7 separate regions of the Homo sapiens genome follow, and all the other regions are linked to region 5. Evidence: promoter capture Hi-C in human tissues and cell types (Jung and others, 2019). All regions are on one chromosome and are shown on one strand. Each heading gives the region's core, a stretch centred on a gene start or on the middle of the fragment in contact. The rest is flanking DNA. Distances are from core to core; before and after follow the strand shown. Region 1 overlaps LINC02820 (long intergenic non-protein coding RNA 2820). Region 2 overlaps LINC02820 (long intergenic non-protein coding RNA 2820). Region 3 overlaps LRRIQ1 (leucine rich repeats and IQ motif containing 1). Region 4 overlaps LRRIQ1 (leucine rich repeats and IQ motif containing 1). Region 5 holds the start of ALX1 (ALX homeobox 1). Region 6 overlaps LRRIQ1 (leucine rich repeats and IQ motif containing 1). Region 7 overlaps LRRIQ1 (leucine rich repeats and IQ motif containing 1).

Region 1 (2,900 bases), core at 313-2,812, 160 kb before region 5:
CAGTCATCTAAATGCATTGAAACCTATAAGCCTTTAAATAAAAACAGGACGATACAACAGTATTTTACATTTAGGTCCAGATATTATTTCTACCAGCAAGTCTTGCTAAGATTTCACTGAAATAGTTCTCTTAAAACTGATCACTCTGTTTCTACTCTTGATCCTTTCATTCTATTTTCAACGTAGCAGTTGTACGGATTCTGTTAAAGCTTTATTCAGGTAATTCAAGGTCAAACAAGATATGTCACCTCTCTCCATCCCTGACATCTACTACTCTGTCTATCTCACTTCCCTCTAATCATGGGGACTTCATTGCCATTCCCCTGATGTGCCTTAAGGCCCAGATTGGATATATTATTCGTGGGGCCCAGTACAAAAAGCAAAATGCAAGTTTTACTGTTCAAAAATTTAAAAAAATTTCAAGATGGCAAGGGTCTTGTGCAAGATCTTGTGCATCAGCACAGGGTGCACACTTAGGAAACCAACCTGCTTAAAGTATTGAACTGTTTTGTGCTTTCTGCCTGAACACTTTCCCTAGGTACCTCCTAGATACCTGTGTGCTAAACTAGTCATTACTCTTTTTTTTTCTTCCATTATACTTCCCAAACTTCAGTTCTTTCATTAAATACCACATCTCAGGCCTTTCTACCCACCTTATTTAAATTTATAATCTCTATTCATGCACACCTAACCCCTATCCTCTATATTTTTGTTCATAGCATATATTGCTATCTATTACTTTTTTTTTTTTTTTTTTGAGACGGAGTCTCGCACTGTCGCCCAGGCTGGAGTGCAGTAGCGCGATCTCGGCTCACTGCAAGCTCCGCCTCCTGGGTTCACACCATTCTCCTGTCTCAGCCTCCCGAGTAGCTGGGACTACAGGTGCCTGCCACCACGCCCAGCTAATTGTTTGTACTTTTAGTAGAGATGGGGTTTCACCGTGTTAGCCAGCATGGTCTCGATCTCCTGTCCTCGTGATCTGCCCGCCTCGGCCTCCCAAAGTGCTGGGATTACAGGCGTGAGCCACCGCGCCCGGTCTATTACATTTATATTTTACTTACTCAATCTAATTTTTGCCTTCTCCCATCAGAATACCAGTTTCAAGAGAGAAGGTGGTTATATCTAATTTTTACTGCACTTAAAATATTCCCTGCGTTTAAAGTAGTAATACTCAATAAAGGTGTTGAATGAATGAATGAATGAAAATATGATTGGCTTTCAGCAATAAAATGCTAAAGACCTGTGCATCAACAACCCATGGGCTGAATGCTGGTCCGTCTCATGCAGGAAGATTCCCAGGGTTTACTTTGGATCAAACAGGTCTCAGAATATGTACTGTAGTGTATATTATTGCCTGAAAGCTATTGGTAGAATAGTGGACCTCAAGAGCTGAATCGGAAATTCTCAGGTAAATCATGGTTTCTGGGACAACAACCTCAATCTCCTCCCCCATCTACTAGTAAATTATGCTCCACCCTTCCTGGAATAATGAGATCCAGAATACTTAACATTCCCCTGCCTAGGGATGTTCACTTTCTATCCCTTCAGGTAAGTTTGGCTGGAAGGTCGCATTAATTAAATTAACTGTTTTTCTTTTATTAACTTTTGGTAAGTCTGCTTTTTGTTGTTGTTATTGTTTTGTTTTTGTTTTTGTTTTTGAGATGGAGGCTCGCTCTGTCACCGAGGCTGCCAGGCTGGAGGGCATAGGTGCGATCTCAGCTCACTGCAAGCTCCGCCTCCCAGGTTCACACCATTCTGCACCATTCTGCTGCCTCAGCCTCCCTAGTAGTTGGGACTACAGGCGGCCGCCACCACACCCGGCTAATTTTGTTTTTGTATTTTTAGTAGAGACGGGGTTCCACCGTGTTTGCTAGGATGGTCTCGATCTCCTGACCTCGTGATCTGCCCGCCTCGGCCTCACAAAGTGCTGGGATTACAGGCGTGAGTCACTGTGCCTGGCCTGGTAAGTCTATTTTATCTCTACATATGCCCACCTATTTAGATTTATTAAAAACTCTTCTCATGTCACATTGAGAATTTAACACTATTACAAGTGTCATATACAGCTTCAAACCCAACAGTGACTCAAATCTGGTTGTTTTTTATCTATAAGAGCATGTAAACATAGTTGCCCAGCTTCACCCTCCCAGTATTTCACTAAGTAGCTCAAAATCATCTGGGAATAACTTTTTTTTCCTCTAACTTCTCTCCCTTAACTCTAGATCAGCCCTCTGGACTATCCATTAGGTGGCACTGCAAATCTCTGGATAGTTGTCTTGTCCTCCTAGAGTCAGATTAATCTTGTTTTATTTTCCAGTTAAATATGAGTTAATATAATCACCTGGAAATTAGGAGATTGTTGGAGGTTTGTACAGAGGGAAAAATGTGTGTCATAATGCTCTGAGAGAATGAGTGGGAAAGAAAATATTCCGAGAAAATATAATGGAATGATTTGTCAGTTTTAGTACACATTTGAGATTTACAGTAAAGGAAAGGCAAAAAGTCAGCCCTGGTGTGTCTGAGTACATGTATCTCATGAATGTGTGTTTGTGTGAATGTGGGTGTGTGTTTCAGTCCCATTCATCTGCATAGGTATAGTTGTAAAATATGCAGCTCGTTGGATAGTCGCTTTATTATGATGGGCCATGATACTAAACATTTTCTAAATATTATTTGAACATTTGTGGTTTTTGGCCATGAATTTAAAATAGAAGCCCTTGGATTATGGTTGCTTTTTCTCTGATCCCACAATGGTTACATGAAATTTTCTTGGTTTATTCAGACTGCTATAACAAAATACCTTACCCTGTGTAATTTATAACTACAGAAATTTATTGCTCACAGTTCTAGAAGATGGGAAATCCAAGATCAAGGTGCCAGCAGATTTGGTGTCTGGTGAG
Region 2 (3,078 bases), core at 88-2,587, 140 kb before region 5:
GGTCAAAAAAATTGTGGTTTTGGCATAAAAACTGCCCTTTTAACTTCTGAAAACTTTTTTTTCTGGTTTGGAAAAGAAATAGAGCAGTTTTGTGATGAAAGGATTTATAGAGAAGGTTTTCTTGGTATTCTGGTTGGATTTATTTCAACTACTGTTTAGAAAGAGAATATTTGTTATGTGTTTAAGTTGTTTTATAGTGTTAGGATCATTCCATGAGAAGACTAAAGCGATTATAAGAATATTGTCTAACTTTCTGCCCATCTCCATCTCAATTTCACGAATACCAAAGTACCAGACACAAATTTAAATTTCCTGAATTGTGAAGAAGGATATTAGCCATGGTGTCATCTGTATTTTTTCCTTATGTCTCTGTATTTCCTTGTAACCACCATGAGGTTTATAGATGCTTTACATTTTTTAAAGTGTATTTTGTCTTTTTATATTATTTACTTCTCTCATCTTTCTAAGACATGAAGAACTACCTAATTTGGGGTCATAAGAATGAGGGCTATACAGGAAGACTAATTCAAGGCTTCAGATTCAGGGCAGGCAGTTTAGGACACAACACTTATTATCATCTCCCTGAACCTCAGACGTTATCAGTCTGCAAGAGAAATTTAATCCTGAACATAAATTGCATTTCCTAAAAAAACATAATCTTGCCTTAAGACACCAACCTCCCTGATTACAGGGAATGTCTGTGTTTACACATTTGTACAGAGCATGCTGACTGTATTAGTGTCCTAGGAAACAAACTGTGTGCTGCTCACAGACCTGCTGCAAGCACTAAGGAGAGAAAGAAAAAGAAATTTTGAAATCAGACCCCCGATCTCCAACTCCTTTCAAATTCTTGAAGCACATTAGCTTTACTACTGCATGATGTACACGGTAGTATTTCTTCTAATGAAATCTGACTAAAAGTTTAAATGAGTTTAATGCATGAAATGTATAAATAAAATGTGGCCTTGATTAAATTTAGACTTGATACATAACTTAAATGGGTAGCCCAAGAATAGCATTGGTATCATGTGTCTAGACCTTTTCAGGCTTTGCAAAAGTAGTTTGGATTTTATCAGTTAGTGCAGAACACTTTCTAACAGGAGCACAGTATATATAAAAAGCTGAAATATGCAAAAGTACTGTGGAGAAAAGTGAGCGTAATTGAAAAGAAGCGACTGAGAAAATAACATAAGATATTAAAAGGTGACCGCAGAGTGGAATTTTGAAGTGTTGATTTGCAAAGAGCAATTTACATAGGTAAAACATTCCATTTGCCGTTTCTTCTGGATTTATTTTCGTTTCATGACTTTGGAAAAATCTCTTAATTTCATGAAGCCTCAGTTTTCCCCAGTCGTGGATCCAGATGCCTTATTTGCCTACTTTCTAGTTTGTTGGAAGGATTAGAATGAGAAAACAAATACAAAAGGATTTGGATTCTGTAGAGTGCTTATAAATCTAAGGCATTATCATTATAATAATTTCAGCTATATATCTAATACACTGCTTTTCAGTGTATTGAAAATACACAGTTGGCTTTTTCCTTAAGGATTTATCCAAAAGTCTACAAGACCATATCCATTACTCATATAAAACTCTTTGACCACATGACACAGAAAAGAGACTTTTTCAGAAACGAACTTTTCAGCTAGTGTGTTAGATATGTAACCCATTATTTGTAATAGGTAGGGCTAAAGCTATTAGACATATTAAATGGATTTTAAAAACAGCTCTTGGGAAACTACATAAATTAGTAGTAAAATGTACGGTCTTTGAAGTCAGCCATCCTCAGCTTCAATCCTGCCTCTACTTACTTGCTATAAGTATCACAGCTGTACAATTAAGAATGTTACTGTATCTTCATAAACTGTTTTTATATCATTTATTAAATGGAGATAAAAAATACCTGCTTAATGGTTTTGCTGTGAGGATTAAATAATATGATATGTGGAGAAGTTTTAACTCATCCCTGGTATTCAATAATAGCTATTCGAAAAAATTCTACTTTATTTTTTATTGTTTTATATATATACCACATAAATACTAAAATATGCATTTCAAGGCAATCACACCCATAAATAAAAAGGAACGTATTCCACTTCAAAAGGTCAAAGAGTTATTCCTTATTGACAGTTTAAAAACGGAAGACCAGTTCTGAAATCTCTCAAATTGAAGATGGAGAGGGGGATAAATGAAACATTGCAACATAAGGACAGCGCATGATGGAGTGGCAAAAGTTTCTCTTAAACCTCCTCAGGAGAAATGTTTGATGATTTTAGGCTAACCCACAGCCAAACTCTGTTTTTGTTTTGTTTTTATTTTTTCTGTTTTAAAGATTGCACAGTGCCACTCAGTTTTAGGCATCTAACAGAATGAAACCAGGTGAGTTTGAGCCAATTTTGCCTTTCATTTTTCAACTTTGTTTATTACTTTACTTAAACCACAACATTCTGAGATCTCACAAGAAAATCTGTTTCTGTGACATTTTCAGCCTGATTTCCAAACCAGAGAAAGAGGTTCAGATAAACTTGGGCTTGTTTCAAAAAAGCATCTGAGATTCTGGATGTTTATTTGAAGCAATCTGGACTCCTGACCTTTAGAGATTCCCCCACCACCCATAAAGAAAGCCTACAATGAATTTACTGTGCAAGGGTCTACTGCTTTAGTTTCTGAATGGATAAAAATCCCCTTAGTTTCAGGGAAAGTTGTTTCCAAACACATTCAGTGGAATCAAGCCTTAAGCAGATATATCGATGCCCTCCATTTAGGAAAAGATATCAACCAGTCAGGGCCCTAGTTCAGAAAACCTGTAATAGATTATGTATTCAATATGCTTTATGAGTTTAAAAAGTATTCCTAGGTTGATACCAATAAGAAGAGGCTCTTGTTGAAGAAGGTGGAGGGTTTAATATCTCCTGGAGCACTATAGAAAAATTCAGACCAAACTGCTCTCTCCCATACAGAGCTTCCTTTAATATCAATGTGGAACTTTAGAAAGTATGCCAGTCCTCCCCATGTTCTTGAACTTTTTCAAAAACTGAATTCTGCCACTTTTGAAACGATGAACACTGAGAAATTGGA
Region 3 (3,232 bases), core at 500-2,999, 140 kb after region 5:
AATGCAGTTTAGGATAATTTTATGTCCTGAGAAACTTCATCACCTTCCTGCAGTGATACATTGAGAAGAACACAATATCACCTCTGTTGTATTCTCACCAAAAATACATAACCTGAATACAATGAGAAGAGACTATGTAACAAACACAAATTCAGAGATATTCTACAAAATAATTTTTCAGTAGTCTTTAAAAGTATTAAATTTGTAAAATACAGAGAAAAGATGAGGAACTATTCTAGTTTAAAGGAGACTAAGGAAAAATGACAACTAAATGCAACTTATGATTCTGGATTAGATCTCAGACTAAATATAGGGCATTAGTAAGACTACTCACAAATTTGATAAGGTTGATTAGATCATAGTATTACATCAATGTTAATTCCCTAATTTTGATAACTGGAGAACATGGTTGAAGGGCACAAAGACGCTCTTGTAAGTATTTTGCTGCCACCTTTGCACACTATACAAGCTTGTAGGATAAAAGAAGATGATGTTAGGAAAAGTTTCTCAATGTTAGGAAAAAAGTCTGTAACAATATTAATAGGATAAACACCTTAGAAACTGGTTTATCTTCAAAATAGTACACTTAATGTATTTTAAGACCAATATTTATATACTATAGTTCGTACTTACTTCATCAAATATAAAATCCTCTAAATCTATTTCTCTGTATTCTTCATCGGATTCTTCATTCTTAATAGCCTCTAGAGCTGTTGTCAGTTTCTTTCGCAAAATAAAGCCCTTCCAAACTGCCTAAACAAAAATGTAAAGTATGTTATACAAAGTTATAGATCAAACCCTAAACCAGATTATCTGTGTTATCCCATTAGGAAGATAAAACATCTTAGACCTAAGTTTAATGACACAATAATCTGTTTTCTGAACTTTATGTGACACTTAAAACTGAAAGATAAATTAAACGACGACATGTGTCTAAAGTTCTGAATCTCAGGAGACTTTCCTTGTAGTAAGCAAAAAAGAATCTTTAAAACTCCCTCAACTGCACATGTAGGTCAACCAATCAATTATGTTACAATTCCTCCAGGACCCATTCTAAACTAAGAAGAAAGAGATACAAAGCAAAACCCATTTTGCTAATGTTCAAATGATTATGTATAAAATAAAGCACAATTAAGAAAACATCAACATATATAAATGGCCATATTATACAGGGAGTATTATGGCCTATAATGATGAATTAATTTCATTTTTAAATAAATTAAGCATAAAATAACAAAATTTAAAATATTCAGATTCCTCAGTAATCCTGGAGTAGGATGAGCTTTCCTAACTATAACTCCAAGTACAATGTAGCTTGTAAAAAATGGATATCTTTATATTTATAAATATAAAGAATATATTTATGCTCATGTGGAATGAGCTTCAGAATATACTGTGTAAAAACCAAGGGAGAAATAAGTGTTTTTTATGTTACTGTTTAGCTATGAAAAACTGTGTATAAATATATACATTACATTAACACATATTTTGAAGTATATATGTATATATATAAATTTTAAAAAGCTCGAATTATAAAATTAATTTTAAAAATGGTTACCTATAAAGGCATAAAACAGGGTAGAATGTATAGCAATAGAAGCCAGACTTCTCTAAATACATCTTGCTTGGATTTGACTTTCAAACTATGCACATGCTTAAGAGAACTGTGAAACAAATTAAGTAAATATGAAACAGAAAGAAATGCCTAAAATATAAAAAATGTTTCATGCTGTGGAATAACCATACAAGTTATTTAAAGTGACTTAAAATAGATTTATTTGGCTACCCCCAGGTGAAATATACTCAAAAGACAAATTTGGCCACAAAAGAGATTTTAAAATGGTTTTCAGTAATCATATTGTTAGTAATGAGATTGGTATTTTCATTCTGAAATATATATATATACAGAAAGAGAGAGAGAGCAAAGTGAAATATACAAAATGGTGAAACCCTCTATGACAATAGCAGTCACCCACAACCTTTGTTAACAGCCAGCCTAGGAAGCCAAACCATAATCTCTGAAGCAAATAACCCAGAATGCTAAGTGACAACCTCTGCAGCAATTAGCCAAGAATGGTCAAAACTTGATCAATGACCCAGCTTCCTTGTTTTTAACTCTGCTTCTAACTCAGGAACAACCAGAGAAAGCCAAATATGCTTCCCAAACCAATCACATAATATGTTCTACTTCTAGTCTCTCCCTACCCACTTTCCCCATGCCAACAACCTCCAATAGAGCATACCTGAAGCGTTCCCTTTTTCCACTAAAAACTTTCCCACTCCCTTCCACGTTTTGGGGTCTATGCCAAAGGCAAGTGATGATGGCTGACTCCTTCATTAGCATATACTCTGAGTAGCCCATTTTTTTCTCATTTGTGTGGTCTTTATTTCCACTGTATACGTATGTGTGTGCACACCCACATACACATACACAAGTACACGCAGGTTGGAGGAGTGAGGGAGAGGAGTAAAGAAAGCAATTATGATAATGTCAGTAAAAAACAAGATTTTCTATAGAAGAAAAGAGATGCAAATATACAATTAAATAAGTAAAAATCCTATAGTCCTAACTATAATTTCAAAACATCAATATGTACCCATGGTATATTTTTTTTCCTAAAAATATCTATCTGCAAACTAAGTACATTGAATGTACATTATATAAATAATGACCAAACCAGTAGAAACAAGTATTTCTAAAATCCAGATGGGGTGCTCTATATGTCATTTCCATTAAAGAAACCAAGGATCTTTAGACAAATGACTGATTCTAGGCCTGGGGCAAAATGTATGTCAAATGAACCTGGAACATTGTGTCACATTAGAAAGCAAGGACAATTTTAAAGACTACTAAATTGTGGCAAAAATTGAACTTGATGAGACTACTAACTGCAATGAAATCAAACACATATATTTAAAATCTGTGTTTATTATCATAGTACCCATTTTGGTGACCTTTGGAGAATGCTAGGAGACCTCATTAATCTAAAAATTGGTAAATTAAGGAAAATTATTAATATCAAGCATTTAACTTGCCTTTCTAATTTGAACTGTACCTTAGGATAACTAGTTAAATAAAGTATTTTTTTTGTATTTTTACATACTTTAGTTAATAAAGAATAGTAGATAGAAAGTATCACCATTGTGCAAACCATTAATACAATAATCGATCTAGGCAATGTTTACCAATGGCCAGTAATATTCCTTAAAGAGAGGCAACCAGATACTATGT
Region 4 (3,284 bases), core at 213-2,712, 230 kb after region 5:
AAGAAGATTAACACAGAAACTCCAACATATGACTAGTAGGAGTTCCTGAATAAAGAACTGAGAAAAACTGAAGGGAAGAAAATAATAGAAAAATACGTTTTCTTAAAAACAACAACAAAAAGCCATGGGAGAAAGACCGAACATTGCATGCACACATACACAACACACTTAGACAGATGCTAGCAATATTTCAGACCTCTGGGGAATGTAAGCTGTTAGTTTTACTGTGCTCCTTTTTAGGTGGTGTGTCTTTTTGCCTCTGGATGCTTCCAACACTATTTTTCCTTTGTCTTGAATTTGAATAGTACTATTTAATTCCAAGGTGTGATTTTCTTTGTATCTCTCCTCCTTGGAAATTGTGTATCGCATTTGAAAGTAGGGATTATTTTCAATTTTATGTACTGTCATATCTTAAACACTCAGAGAAGTGCCTGACCTAGTAGAAAACCAGTAAATATGTGTGGATGAATGTATAAAATGAAAAATCCTAAAGCTTCAAAAGAATGTAAGGAAAAGGCATCAAATTTGCAATCATAGATAGCACAGGCAAAAATAAATATGCAACAAAGTCATATCTTTACATTGTTAAGGGTGGTAATAAATCTGTATTCCACACCCGAAGAAACTGACCATTCATTTTTAAAAGCAAACTAAAAATATTTTCAATCCTGGGTAACACGGTGAAACCTTGTGTCTACTAACAATACAAAAAATTAGCTGGGCGCAGTGGCGGGCGCCTGTAGTCCCAGCTACTCGGGAGGCTGAGGCAGGAGAATGGCGTGAACCCAGGAGGCGGAGCTTGAAGTGAGCCGAGATGGCGCCACTGCACTCCAGCCTGGGCGACGGAGCGAGACTCCATCTTAAAAAACAAAAAACAAAACAAAATATTTTCAAATATGCAAACAAAGATTGAGAAAATCTAGCATCCAAAAATGTTTTTTGACAACTATTTAAGTGTATACTACAGGAAATTAAAAATTGAGTCCAGAAAATGGAGGAAGAGTCAGGATTCAAAGAACACTAATAAACAAAGAAACCATTATCATTGAATACTTACGTTTTTTGAATCGTCTTCTTTCTTCCATCATTTTACTTAAAGATGGCTATTTGTTTTACTGTTACTCCTTTTTAGGTAATGCGTCTTTTATCCTCCAGATGCTTCTAAGACTTTATTTTTCCTTTGTTTTGAATTTCAATAATTGTATTATTTATTCCAAGGTAGCATTTTCTTTGTATTTATCCTACTTGGAAATTATTTTTCATCTTTGAATATGCTGGTTGATTTTTTAAAAACAATTTGAAATCTTTTTAACCATTATCTCTTTACCTCTTTGCTTCTGCCCCATTCTCTGTCTCCTCTCAAGATATGATACAAATTTTATATCTTTTCACCATGTGTCACATATTTCTTGTGCTGTTTTCCTCTTCTTGCAATTTTTTTTCTTCTCTGTGCTTTAATTTGGATATTTTCTATTGAACTGTCTCATTTCACTAATGGTGTCATCTGCTATGTCCAATCAAATTCACCCACTAAATTTTAATTTTATATACTGAATTTTTTAAACTCTAGAATGTAGAGTTGGTACTTCATTATAGATGCTATTTTTCTTTTCACATCACCTGTTTAAGTATTTTGCTACTGGATGATAATTATAGGTATTTTAACAGCTCTACTATACTTACCATTTGGATTATCTATAGGTGAGCTATTATTGTCTTTTTTTGTCACTTGTCATTCATATGACTCTGTCTCTTTACATGCTTAACCAGCTTTTTAATTTGACAATGTGTAGTAGACACCTACTTTTGCAGGAGCGGGTTTATATAAATTTTAAAAAGATTTGAAAGGAATACAAAAAAGGATAATGTTTAGCTAAATAACAGGATTATGGAGATATCTACTTTAAATTTGTAATTACTTAAAATAATTGTATATGAAAACTCTAGAGTAAATAAAAACTAAAACATCAGTATATGTATCATCAGAATAATCTTATATTCAAAACAAATTTAATTGTGTTTAGGAAAAAGAGTAAGCTTTCATAACAATCTTTGAACATAAAGAAATATTCAAAATGGTACATTTCATCAAACCTTAAAAGAAATGTTAGAATTACAATTTTATACGGACAACACTCACCAAACCAGCTAACTCTCATTTTTAAGACATTCTATTTCAAGGAGTGTTTCTGAGGATTAATAAATTTTTAATGCTGTAATAAACTAAAATCTTATACTACTTAGGCAGCATTATCTAAAAATAACCATTTCAAGCATAGTAATGTATTTCAAATAAAGAAAGCTTAATGTGCTAAATAAAAACAACAAATAGATACCTCATGCTGTTTAAATTTCTCTTTCCAAATTTTCTCTTCTTTATAGAGTTCATCATTCATCTTGTCCTGTTCTTGCTGAACATATGATAATAATAAATATGACTATACTCAAATATCAAAAATATTATGTTAATTATATATGATTCTCATAACATATATTTGTAAACAATAGTTAAAGCTGACAACCCAACCAATGGCTTTCAATTTTTAGTACTGGGATAACAACTTTAATCTCAAACTGAAGTGTCACATAATACCTAGGGTTTCCATTCTGAGAACATAAAGAAGTTTGCAACCTAGGAAAGTTGTATTTATTTGAGTATGTTTATTCACAGAATATAATGTATTGGCTCGAAACACTGTTAGGCATTGTAAAAATTACAATAATGTTTGTAAAATGGGTTTTGTGTTACAATTGTTTTCTCACCATGTCATACCATTTAATTCACATAAATCAGTTCAGTAAGTGATGGTTTTCTTTCAATAAGTTTTTATCAACACATTCGATAAGACTCCTCAGAATAAACAGATCAGTAAAATACAACCCCCTTCTTCAAAAACTCTTCTGATAATGTGAAGACACTATCATAAATTTACACATTACCCAAAATCTAGCAGAATAAGTTTATTGCAAGAGAAAAATATAAAAAATAATAATGGGCATGATAATTAGATCATGAAAGGTTTTATGCAAAAGACTGTATTTGAAATCACTAGGTTTTCAAGAAGAGAAACATTTTTGGCACTTATTAAGCATTTTGAGCTAGGAAAATAATTACATCACTGTTTTTATGAAAATCATCAGTTTACATTAGATAAAATTAAAAGAGAACCAAGGAGACAATGAGATCAGTGAGCAAATTATATTAGTGTGTTGCTGTAAAGGAACACCTGAGGCTAGATAATTCATAAAGAAAAGAGGTTTATTTAATTCACGATTTTGCTGGC
Region 5 (3,127 bases), core at 434-2,933:
TATGATCAAGTCCATCCAGAGTCAATACAAGACATTGCAGAATCATTAAAGAAAGACCTGTCAATTCAAATAACGTTAGGCATGCACCTAAGAATTCCACAAATACAGATACCAGGTCTGAAACGCAGCCAGAAAACCAACAACTCAGTGTAAGAATAACAAAAAGTATACGCTCGAATCTTTCTAAATAAATGACTGAAACGACTTAGCTGATTATTTTCTCTATCATTTGCACCTTTATTTTTGATTTACCCTTAGTCAAAAGTTACTTGCAACGTTAAATAAAATTAGTTAAATATGAGATTAATAAAAGAAAAAAACTTGTGTTCAAAATATTTAGAAAATGAGCTTCTACAGGCCAGTGTTTTGTCAGATTTTGAATTTCTATAAAATAGGGGGCAGGGGGCTTGTTGTAAATATTTCACACTTAATTCGTTTGTTATTTTAAAGCAACCCGCCCCTTATAGCTTAACTGTGGAATATATACAATGATAAGGAGAAGTTCTCTTGGAATTGTAAACGTGCTTTAGCTGTCGCGATCTGAAATAATAGGTTAGTATTAGGTTACAAGATAGAAAAGATAGATGGTTTGTTTTGATAACATTTTGACTTGGAGATACTTGGGCATTCAAAGTTGAAGATTTCACCCAGAAGCATTCCAAAGACTCCTTAGGTGACTTTTAATGTGAAGTCATAAAAATACAAAACGTAGAATCTGGGAATGAGTGATTAGGCCGGGGATGGTTTGCCCGAAGCTATTTAGTGTGCTTTAGTGTTTAACAAACATTCAACGCGTGTTGTATTGCAAACGCAAAAAAAAGCAGAAATTACAAATTCACACACGCTAGAAATCTAGGGATCCTCAAACTTTGAAAATATATCGCCACGTCTTGGAAAATTAAAAAGATTTATCTTTACCTAAAGGAGCTCAAAGGGTTTTTTGTTTTTTGTTTTTGTTTTCCGGTTTTTTTTTCCCTACTCGTGACGACAGTGACGTACTCTAACGAGCTGTGATCGATTTCAGTTCCTACCGCCCGGACTGCAAGGCGGGCTCGCAGAGGAAGCGTTCTGTCTTGACTCAATTACGCTCTATTTAGCGCCCTATCAGTTTACTCCAGGAACCAATATTACAGAAGGACTCAGGGATCCGTAGGCGACCAGACCCTACAGCGAAAGGAGAATCGCTCAGAGGCAACCCGGTGCTGGATCTCTCCCTCCCTCCGCCCTCCGCCCCCAAAGGCTGCAGCAGCAGTAACACCGCTTCATAAAGCGAGCACCTTCCACTACCTTCCTCCACCTTCCAGGTCCCTCGCTCCCACTTTTCTCCTTTCTCCCTCCCTGCCTGATCAGACCGATCCTGCATTTTCGATTGCGGAAGGGCTGCGGCGGCTCCGGCTGGGGCGCTAGCGACTCACCGCTGCTGTCCTGACAGGGCGAGGTCCTCTCCAAGCGCACGTGATGCTCGGCGCGGGGCAGGGGTCCGAAGGCCTGCACGCATTTGCCTGCAGACGCTTTGCTGTAAAAGGACTCATTGTCCAGCGTCTCCATAACGTGCTCCAGAGGACCTCCTGCGCCCATGTAAAAGTCACTGTTTTTACTCGGAGGGCTCTTGAGGGCAAACTTCTCGCTCAGAAACTCCATAATCCTGGAAGACTGTCGCGTAGCTCCTGGGGCACAGAAACTGGAGAGCGCTGGGGGAGGGAGCCAGTGGGTGGGAGGAGGGAGGGCCAGAGAGGAGGGAAGGGAAAGCGAGCGCTGCGGCGTCGGGAACTGCCCCGCTCCGGTCCCTTTAATACGTCCCGGCTGGAAAAGGAGCACCCGAAGTTGCTTTTATATCTTGAAACTCAGCTGGCCTCCTCGGGCAGCCTCCCAGTTCTAATGAATATGAAAATAGGCGGGCGACTAACTCCACCCCAGGTCCCCCTCCGCCCCTACCCCACCCCCATTTTCCCCACTTACCCGGGCAGAGGGCGTCCAGGCCTAGGATAGACAGACAGACAGCTCCATTTCAGACAAATGCCAGGAGAGACGAGCCCCTGACACCCAGATTCATTGCCGCCGTGACAGTGGACTGGCATTTCGGAAGATCTTGGTGAGATCGCAAAGCAGTTAAACCTCCACTCCCTACTGCCTGCGCCTTCCTGAGCCACCCGTCCCCACCCCGCCCCCATGCCGGCCACTCACTACCAGAAAGATTTAGAGGCGTCTTAAGAACTTGAAAGGAAATATTGCTCTAAAAGGCTTTTATTTCATCCGTAAATCGTTTACGTGGAAGATTCACATTAATCCGAAGCCCAAGGAACCAGATGCATTGGCAACTGTTAATCGCAGCCGCCGTAGTAGAGGGGCCGCTTCGGCTTCTAACCGGGAGGAGCTCGGGGTCCGGGCCAGCTGGGAGCTTTACGAGGCCGTGGCCTTTTCTTTTTCTCTGGAATGCGGCGGAGTGTGGACGCGGTGGCGATGGGTGGGAGAGAGAAGCCGAGCAAGAGGCAATGAAGCCATTATACTAATGCCAACCAATTCCCTACACCCTCTTCGCCACCCTTCCCTTTGGTCCACGATTTTATCATTAGACCCAAATTATTTTAAGAAAACCCGTTAGGATCAGTGCCTTTGAAAGGCTTTTACTCTAATGCCAAAGTGAGGATTGTTACAAATAGGGGTTTATGAAGAAGAGGAATGTCTGCATATTTTTACAGAAATTACTTTTAATTTTAAAGAGTTGCTGTGGAGTTACTCCGAAAAGCGCTCTGGGAGTGAGTGGTGAGCGCGCGGAGCTGCGGGCACTCGCGGCGCGGCGTCCTGGGCGCGGACAGGTCCAAGGCCTCCATTTCCACCAGAGGGGATGGTAGGGCAGGCAGGACAGCACTGCTAGGTTGAAAGCCCTTCTGTGTGACTTTTGGCACGACTCTTGGCTTCCTAGGAGCCCGCGGCGCTTGGGGGAAATGCGTTCGGTGCCCTGGGCACAAAATCGCATTTGCGTCAGGCACCCTAAGCTAGCAAATTTGGTGAAAATAAGCCAGACAGGTTTTGGTCCAGGTAGGCCTCTGCTTAGACGTCCTGACACAGCCTTTGTCAACACTGGCACTCACAGCGGCCGTCGCGTTTCCCCAGACAAGTCTGGCAA
Region 6 (3,034 bases), core at 233-2,732, 170 kb after region 5:
AGAATTGCTTTTATTAGTTCTTTATGATTTTAAATCTTAGCAAACTTCTGAGGTTTAACTAAAAGTGTGCCCCTTTAGCCAAGGCCGTTTCTCCTTGTCACACTAAACTGAGATGATTTTTCTAAATTTTTAAAGCTTATATGTTGCCTACAATAATCATTTGACACTAGTGTTTTATTAGACACAAAAACTCTAAGAGTTACAAGCGTAGATTTTGCAGCCAGACTGCATGAGTTAGATTTCCTGGCTCCTCTACTTGATAGCTATGTAACCTTGGTCAAGTTATTTAGCCTTTATGGGACTCAGTTTCCTCAACTATAAAATGGGAGGCTGGGTTACATACATAATTATTAGGCATATTGTATAGATTAAATGAGAACAGTGTTGAGCACAGAGTGAATGTTGTATTAGTGGTTTTGATCATTATTATTTTTCATGGTTATCAATTCTGTGCCTACATTTTATCTCCCCAGTATGATTAGAAAAATGTCTTAAAATTATGGGTTACATTAAATCTCCTTCATAATGTCCAACATGTTAGGACACTGAGGACACTGCATACAGGAGGAGTTCATAAAATACTTGGTGATTAAATAAGATCCCATATATAATCTGGTTAACATGGTAATGGGAAATAGTAAATTTTCATTATCTTACCACGTTCTAAGAATTGTTCTAAATAAATTATGCGTATTATACCATTCAGTTCTCATAACCACCCCATGAGACTATCATCCTCATTTTACTACTGGGGATTCAGAGACATAAAAAAGTTAAGTTAGAGCTGGACATGGTGGCATACACCTCTTGTCCCAGCTACTCAGGAGGCTTTGGTAAAGGAAATGCTTAAGTCCAGGAGTTCAAGGCCATCCTGGGCAACATAGAAAGACCACATATCTAAAAAAGAAAATTAAGTTACTTGTCCAGGATCACACAGTATGGGGTAGGGGTAGAATATCCTTGTTTTAAAATGGTGGTTTTCAAACTTTAGTATATATCAGAATCATCAAAAGGGCTTCTTAAAGTACAGATTACTGAACACCATTCCTAGGTTTCTGATTCAGTAGGCTTGGATGGTGTCAAAAATACTGCATTTCTGCTGGGTTTCCAGGTGATGATGACTGATGCTGGTCAAGAGACACACCTTTGAGAACCACTGTACTAGGTCATACTCTTTCATCTGTGCTGCACAGCTTAACGTACACTTGGAAAAGACATTTCTAAACTGGAAGTTGACAAATTTTTTTCTAAAACGTGGAAACATGCCAGATTTCCCTAAATAACATTGTACTATTAGAAACTTTTTTGGAAACCTGGCTCTAAAGAAAAAAGAAAGAAAAATGGACTTTCTGGGCCAAGATAATAACTCTTCTAAGATATACAAGTTACCAATATGCAGTAAATTACATAGGTGTTTGAGTTAGTGTAAAAATGCTTCTACCTTCTTAACCAAAGACCAAGTAACAAATCCAGGAAACAAATTAACCTAGAAAGAATGTCAGAGGTTTGCAGTAGCCTCAGACAAGAGTGGGAAGACAGACTATTCCCCAGACTCTAATAGCTTGTTCTACAGGTACATTAAGTCAGATATGGGAATTTTAAACATAACCAGACATTTAATTCTTCTGTAATATATCTTATACTCCTCTGAAATTGTCAGATCCAGGATCTTCCTGGACATGGCCACACCTTGCAGAGAAACCAAATCAGGGCAAAAATTCAACAGCTTCTGCCCTAGGATCAGGTGTTATAGCTATTTTTTTTTTAGTTTGTGTTTTGTTCATAAATGTATTTTAACTGCCTGAACAAATTGACAAGTTTTCCTGATTTGATTTAAACTCTAATGGTCCTAATACATATTTTGCTACCTAATATGTATTTTAGTAAATGTGTGCCTTCCCCTATACTTAGCATGTTTGTATTGGCAAACTCATTTTCCTAAATTGTAGCCTTGTTTATGCTTGGCTTATCCTGCCTTGATGTACCAGTGAAATGACAGTATAAAAATGTCAAATGTACAATAAATAATGTGAAACCATCTCAAAAGTGAATGTTCTGAGCATAAAAAAAGACAAAAGTGTAAGCCAGAATGATCACCAATTCCACAGTGGAAAATTTCACAGTGGACATATGCAAATTCTCTCAGTATTCTGGGAGGTAATTCACTTAAACTTGGCAAATCAGTAATCTTCTGTTGATGTGTAAGAAAAAGCCATCTAAATTCAGGGGAAAGGACCAGTAGAAACTGAAGGCAGAACTATAGGAACTGACATAGGAGATTAGTTCCCACAGGCAAAGTTAAAAGAATACATAGAAGACCGGGCACAGTGGCTCACATCTGTTATCCCAGCACTTTGGGAGACTGAGGTGGGAGGATTTCTTGAGCCCAGGAGTTCGAGACCAGCCTGTCTCTATATGAGACATCTGGAAAAAATACTCAGAAAATTGTCATCATAGTAGTAGGGCTAAATTAGCATTACTCCAACGATTTCTTTGGACCATTCTAACAGAACTTAAAAGCAAGCTTAGAAAGTATCGCATTAGTGCCAAGTAACTTAGCCACTGCACACCAAACATAAAATAGAGGCTATTTAAAGTAATACAATGAAATTAAGCATTGGGAATATAAAATTCAAAATGTCCAGAATACAACCAATACTGACCAGGCATGCAATGAAGCAGAGAAATATGATCCAGAATCAGTGAAAAAAAATTCAATACAAGTAGACCTTCAAATGATAGAGATGATGGAAAGAACAGATAAGGAAGTTAAATTAATACAGCTATTATTATTTTCCATATGTTCCAGAAGGTTCCAGAAAGCATGAGCATGATTAGAAGAGAAATTACAAATGTTAAAGAAATACACAAATTTATATAGAGGAAAAATATATCTGCAATCAGAAATGAAAAATAGATGAGTCTGAAAGCAGAGTAGATACTTAAACAGAAAATATCAGAGAATTTGAAGACAAAGCAATAGAAACTATTCGGAGTGAGTGAGGCATGGAAAGGGAAATAAATAATAATAAGT
Region 7 (2,977 bases), core at 349-2,848, 190 kb after region 5:
AGAAAATCCTAAGCAAAAAGAAGAAAGTCAGAGGTATCACACTACCAGACTTCAAACTATGCTATAAGACTATAGTAACCAAAATAGCATGGTATTGGTACAAAAACAAATAGACCAATGGGACAGGATATAGCAGTGGTCTCCAACCTCTCTGGCACCAGTGACCGGTTTCATGGTGATGGTTTCTGGATTATTCAAGCAAATTGCCTTTATTGTGAAATTTATTTTTATTATTATTACATTTTAGTATATAATAAAATAATTATACAACTCACCACAAAGTAGAATCAGTGGGAGCCCTGAGCTTGCTTTCCTGCAAATAGATGGCCCCATTTGTTGGTGATGGAAGACAGTGACATGCAAAGTGTGTTGCTTATGTCCAGTCTACAAAGTAATCTCATTTTGGTTGCTATCTCTCCAGAAAGCCCTGTTTCACAAAGATTAAATGCTGCAAATTGAAGCAGGCTTTCCAGCGCTTTTCTGGCAAACTCAGGATATCTAGCTTTGACTTTAATTCAGAATGTATGGAGATTTGAAGTTGTCTCAAATGTACTTTTAAGGCCACCATCATTTGCAGTCTCAAGCAGTTGATCCTCTTCTAGCCTGGCCAAAGTCAATTCACCTGGCTTATTCACAAATGGTCACAGATCCATTCCTTCTCAGTTCAGGGGTCTTTTGTGGTTGGGAAATAATGCTCAAACTCTTTTGAAAGCTGAGATAGGCAATGATGCAGCAGCTCGGAGAAAGGAGGCCTTGGCTCAGTCTCTTTCAAAAATCTCTGCTACTGTCTGAATCATATAAAAAATCTCTGTGTTCACTTGTTGCATCCAAAATTCCAGTTTGGCTTTGAATGCAGTCACTTTATCTGCCGACTTGAACACAATTATTGTTCTCTTCTGAAGTGACAGGTTGAGTTTGTTGAGGTGTCATATGTCATAGAAGTAAGCAAATGTGAGGACACTTTTTGTGTTACTGAAATGTGCTGCCAGTGGTGGGTGTTTTCTAAAATAAATCTTTGGAGTGGCTCTTATAGCTCAAAAACTCTGGCCAGTGATCTACCTTTAGAAAGCCATCTCACTTCTCTGTATAAGAGAAGACATGCATGCTCTGCATCCATCTTCTCACGTACGTGTGCAAACAGATGTGAGTTAAGGGCATGCACTTTAATGTGGTTGACAATTTTAGTCATATCCTGCAAAACATTAATTTCAAGTGACATTTTTGAGCTAGCCAGCATTTCTTTAAGGATGCCACCATGCATAACTTCCATTCAGAAGCAACCTCTTTGACCTGAGTAGTGAAACCAGAAAGCTGTCCAGTCATGGTAGCTGCTCCATTTGTGCATATACTGACACAAAATGATCAATTCCATTCTCCTGAGATGTAATTATTCAAATACTTGAATAGTTCTGCAGCTGTTGTGTTGGTTGACAACAAAAGTGTACATAACATATCCTCATGCACACCCTCCTGAAAAATATATCGCATAAAGACAAGTATTGTTACCTTGTTGTCAACATTAGTAGACTCATCAACCTGGATTGTGTACCATGGTGACTCATTAATCCTCTCCAACAATTACTTCTCAGTATCCTCTGCTATTTCATCTAATTGTCTGGTTATGGTGCTAGCCAAAAGAGGAACATGTGTCATCTTTTAAACTGCAGCCTCTCTTAAAACTTCATGACAAATGTCATTAGCAGCAGGCAGGATTAACTCTTCATCAATAGCAAAGGACTTCTTTGCTTTAGCGATGTGGTTAGTCTCTAAGAATGATGCCGTCGGCGCAGGCACGTTTGATAAAGTGGTGGCCTTCAATAACTGCTTCTGTTCTACATGTTTTTCCTTTTGACAAACACCAAAGGTTAGTGCAGGGTGCTTGGTCTCCATGTGACAAAGAAGTTTTGAAGGTTTCATGGGTTCATTGTATAGCCAGATGCCAAATATTATACAAAATGGACTTGGAGAATGTGAATCATTTGTTGCAATGAACTCGTGATTTAAGTGGAAATCTTGATATTTTCTTTTAGATGCAACTTTCCTTTTGTTGGCAGTCTTACAGAGTCTTCTGATGTCTCATCATTTGAAGAGTCTTTCACGGTTTTCAAATAAACTCTCCGGTGATGTTTGGCTTTTACTCATTTTGGCTGAGGTTATCTTGTGGGCTTACAAAAACTGTGACTGAGGCAAGTGCACAGTGCAGGAAAGAGGTGTGGATGGAAATGATAAATAAAATAATGAGTGGGCCACACACAGACTAAAATAAGTGTTGGATTCTGACTAAAAATCTGCCATAAGTTGCAGCTGTATAATTGAAGTACATCAACTCTCTTGACACCATAAAGCCTGCCACCAAATGCAGTTTGATTGTTACTTGCCACTCACTGATGGGGTTTTTATATGATTCTGTAAGCAACTGATTTGTTATGATCTCTGTGCAGTCAAAACTCTCTGCAAATGTTAATCTGTATTTGCAGCTACTCCCCAGATTATCGTAAGGAGTGTGCAACCTAGATCCCTTGCATGCTCAGTTCACAATAGGATTCACGCTCCTATGAGAATCTAATGCTGCTGATGAACTGACAGGTGGTGGAGCTCAGGCAGTAATGCAAACAGCAGTGAGCCATTGTAAATACAGACAAAGATTCACTCACTTGCCTACCACTCATCTTCTGCTGTGAGGCCTGGATTCTAACAGGCCATGGACCGCTACTGGTCCATAACCTGGAAGATGGGAACCCCTGGGATACAGAACTCAGAAATAAAGCCATACACGTACAATTATCTAATATTTAACAAATTTTTTAAGAAGCAAGCAATGTGGAAAGGGCTCCCTATTCAATAAATGGTGCTGGGATAACTGGCTATCCACATCCAGAATAAAACCGGACCTTTACTTTTCACCATATACAAAAACTAACTCAAGATGGATTAGATCTAAATGTAGCATCTAAAACTATAAAAATCCAGGAGAAAA

What was found. Contacts are between HindIII fragments. The study calls those that stand out against the background at their distance.
Region 1: a contact is called between a fragment that was not itself captured here and the fragment with the promoter of ALX1 in region 5, in 2 of the 25 tissues and cell types used here (mesendoderm cells and neural progenitor cells).
Region 2: a fragment that was not itself captured here is called in contact with the fragment with the promoter of ALX1 in region 5 in 4 of the 25 tissues and cell types used here (H1 embryonic stem cells, liver, mesendoderm cells and 1 more).
Region 3: a fragment that was not itself captured here is called in contact with the fragment with the promoter of ALX1 in region 5 in 3 of the 25 tissues and cell types used here (H1 embryonic stem cells, mesendoderm cells and neural progenitor cells).
Region 4: a fragment that was not itself captured here is called in contact with the fragment with the promoter of ALX1 in region 5 in 3 of the 25 tissues and cell types used here (H1 embryonic stem cells, mesendoderm cells and thymus).
Region 6: a contact is called between a fragment that was not itself captured here and the fragment with the promoter of ALX1 in region 5, in 3 of the 25 tissues and cell types used here (H1 embryonic stem cells, lymphoblastoid cells and mesendoderm cells).
Region 7: a fragment that was not itself captured here is called in contact with the fragment with the promoter of ALX1 in region 5 in 2 of the 25 tissues and cell types used here (adrenal gland and neural progenitor cells).

Annotation. Positions count from the first base shown.
Region 1 is chr12:85,441,298-85,444,197 of GRCh38, reverse strand. The region is part of intron 4 of LINC02820 (long intergenic non-protein coding RNA 2820); the gene reads right to left. Among named protein-coding and RNA genes, the nearest start is that of LINC02820, 120 kb to the right of the region's middle. The HindIII fragment of the contact is 3,723 bases long and covers 1-2,900 here.
Region 2 is chr12:85,420,608-85,423,685 of GRCh38, reverse strand. The region is part of intron 3 of LINC02820 (long intergenic non-protein coding RNA 2820); the gene reads right to left. Among named protein-coding and RNA genes, the nearest start is that of LINC02820, 100 kb to the right of the region's middle. The HindIII fragment of the contact is 5,156 bases long and covers 1-3,078 here.
Region 3 is chr12:85,135,371-85,138,602 of GRCh38, reverse strand. LRRIQ1 (leucine rich repeats and IQ motif containing 1) reads right to left here. Exons shown (of 27, transcript NM_001079910.2): 19 at 634-753. Among named protein-coding and RNA genes, the nearest start is that of LRRIQ1, 100 kb to the right of the region's middle. The HindIII fragment of the contact is 5,109 bases long and covers 1-3,232 here.
Region 4 is chr12:85,051,304-85,054,587 of GRCh38, reverse strand. LRRIQ1 (leucine rich repeats and IQ motif containing 1) reads right to left here. Exons shown (of 27, transcript NM_001079910.2): 7 at 2,337-2,411. Among named protein-coding and RNA genes, the nearest start is that of LRRIQ1, 17 kb to the right of the region's middle. The HindIII fragment of the contact is 5,235 bases long and covers 1-3,284 here.
Region 5 is chr12:85,278,776-85,281,902 of GRCh38, reverse strand. ALX1 (ALX homeobox 1) reads right to left here and starts at 1,683. Exons shown (of 4, transcript NM_006982.3): 1 at 1,416-1,683. The coding sequence starts at 1,641. RefSeq lists a silencer at 1,298-1,592. The HindIII fragment of the contact is 12,363 bases long and covers 1-3,127 here.
Region 6 is chr12:85,107,710-85,110,743 of GRCh38, reverse strand. All of the region lies in intron 15 of LRRIQ1 (leucine rich repeats and IQ motif containing 1), which reads right to left. Among named protein-coding and RNA genes, the nearest start is that of LRRIQ1, 73 kb to the right of the region's middle. The HindIII fragment of the contact is 4,998 bases long and covers 1-3,034 here.
Region 7 is chr12:85,091,608-85,094,584 of GRCh38, reverse strand. The region is part of intron 11 of LRRIQ1 (leucine rich repeats and IQ motif containing 1); the gene reads right to left. Among named protein-coding and RNA genes, the nearest start is that of LRRIQ1, 57 kb to the right of the region's middle. The HindIII fragment of the contact is 5,012 bases long and covers 1-2,977 here.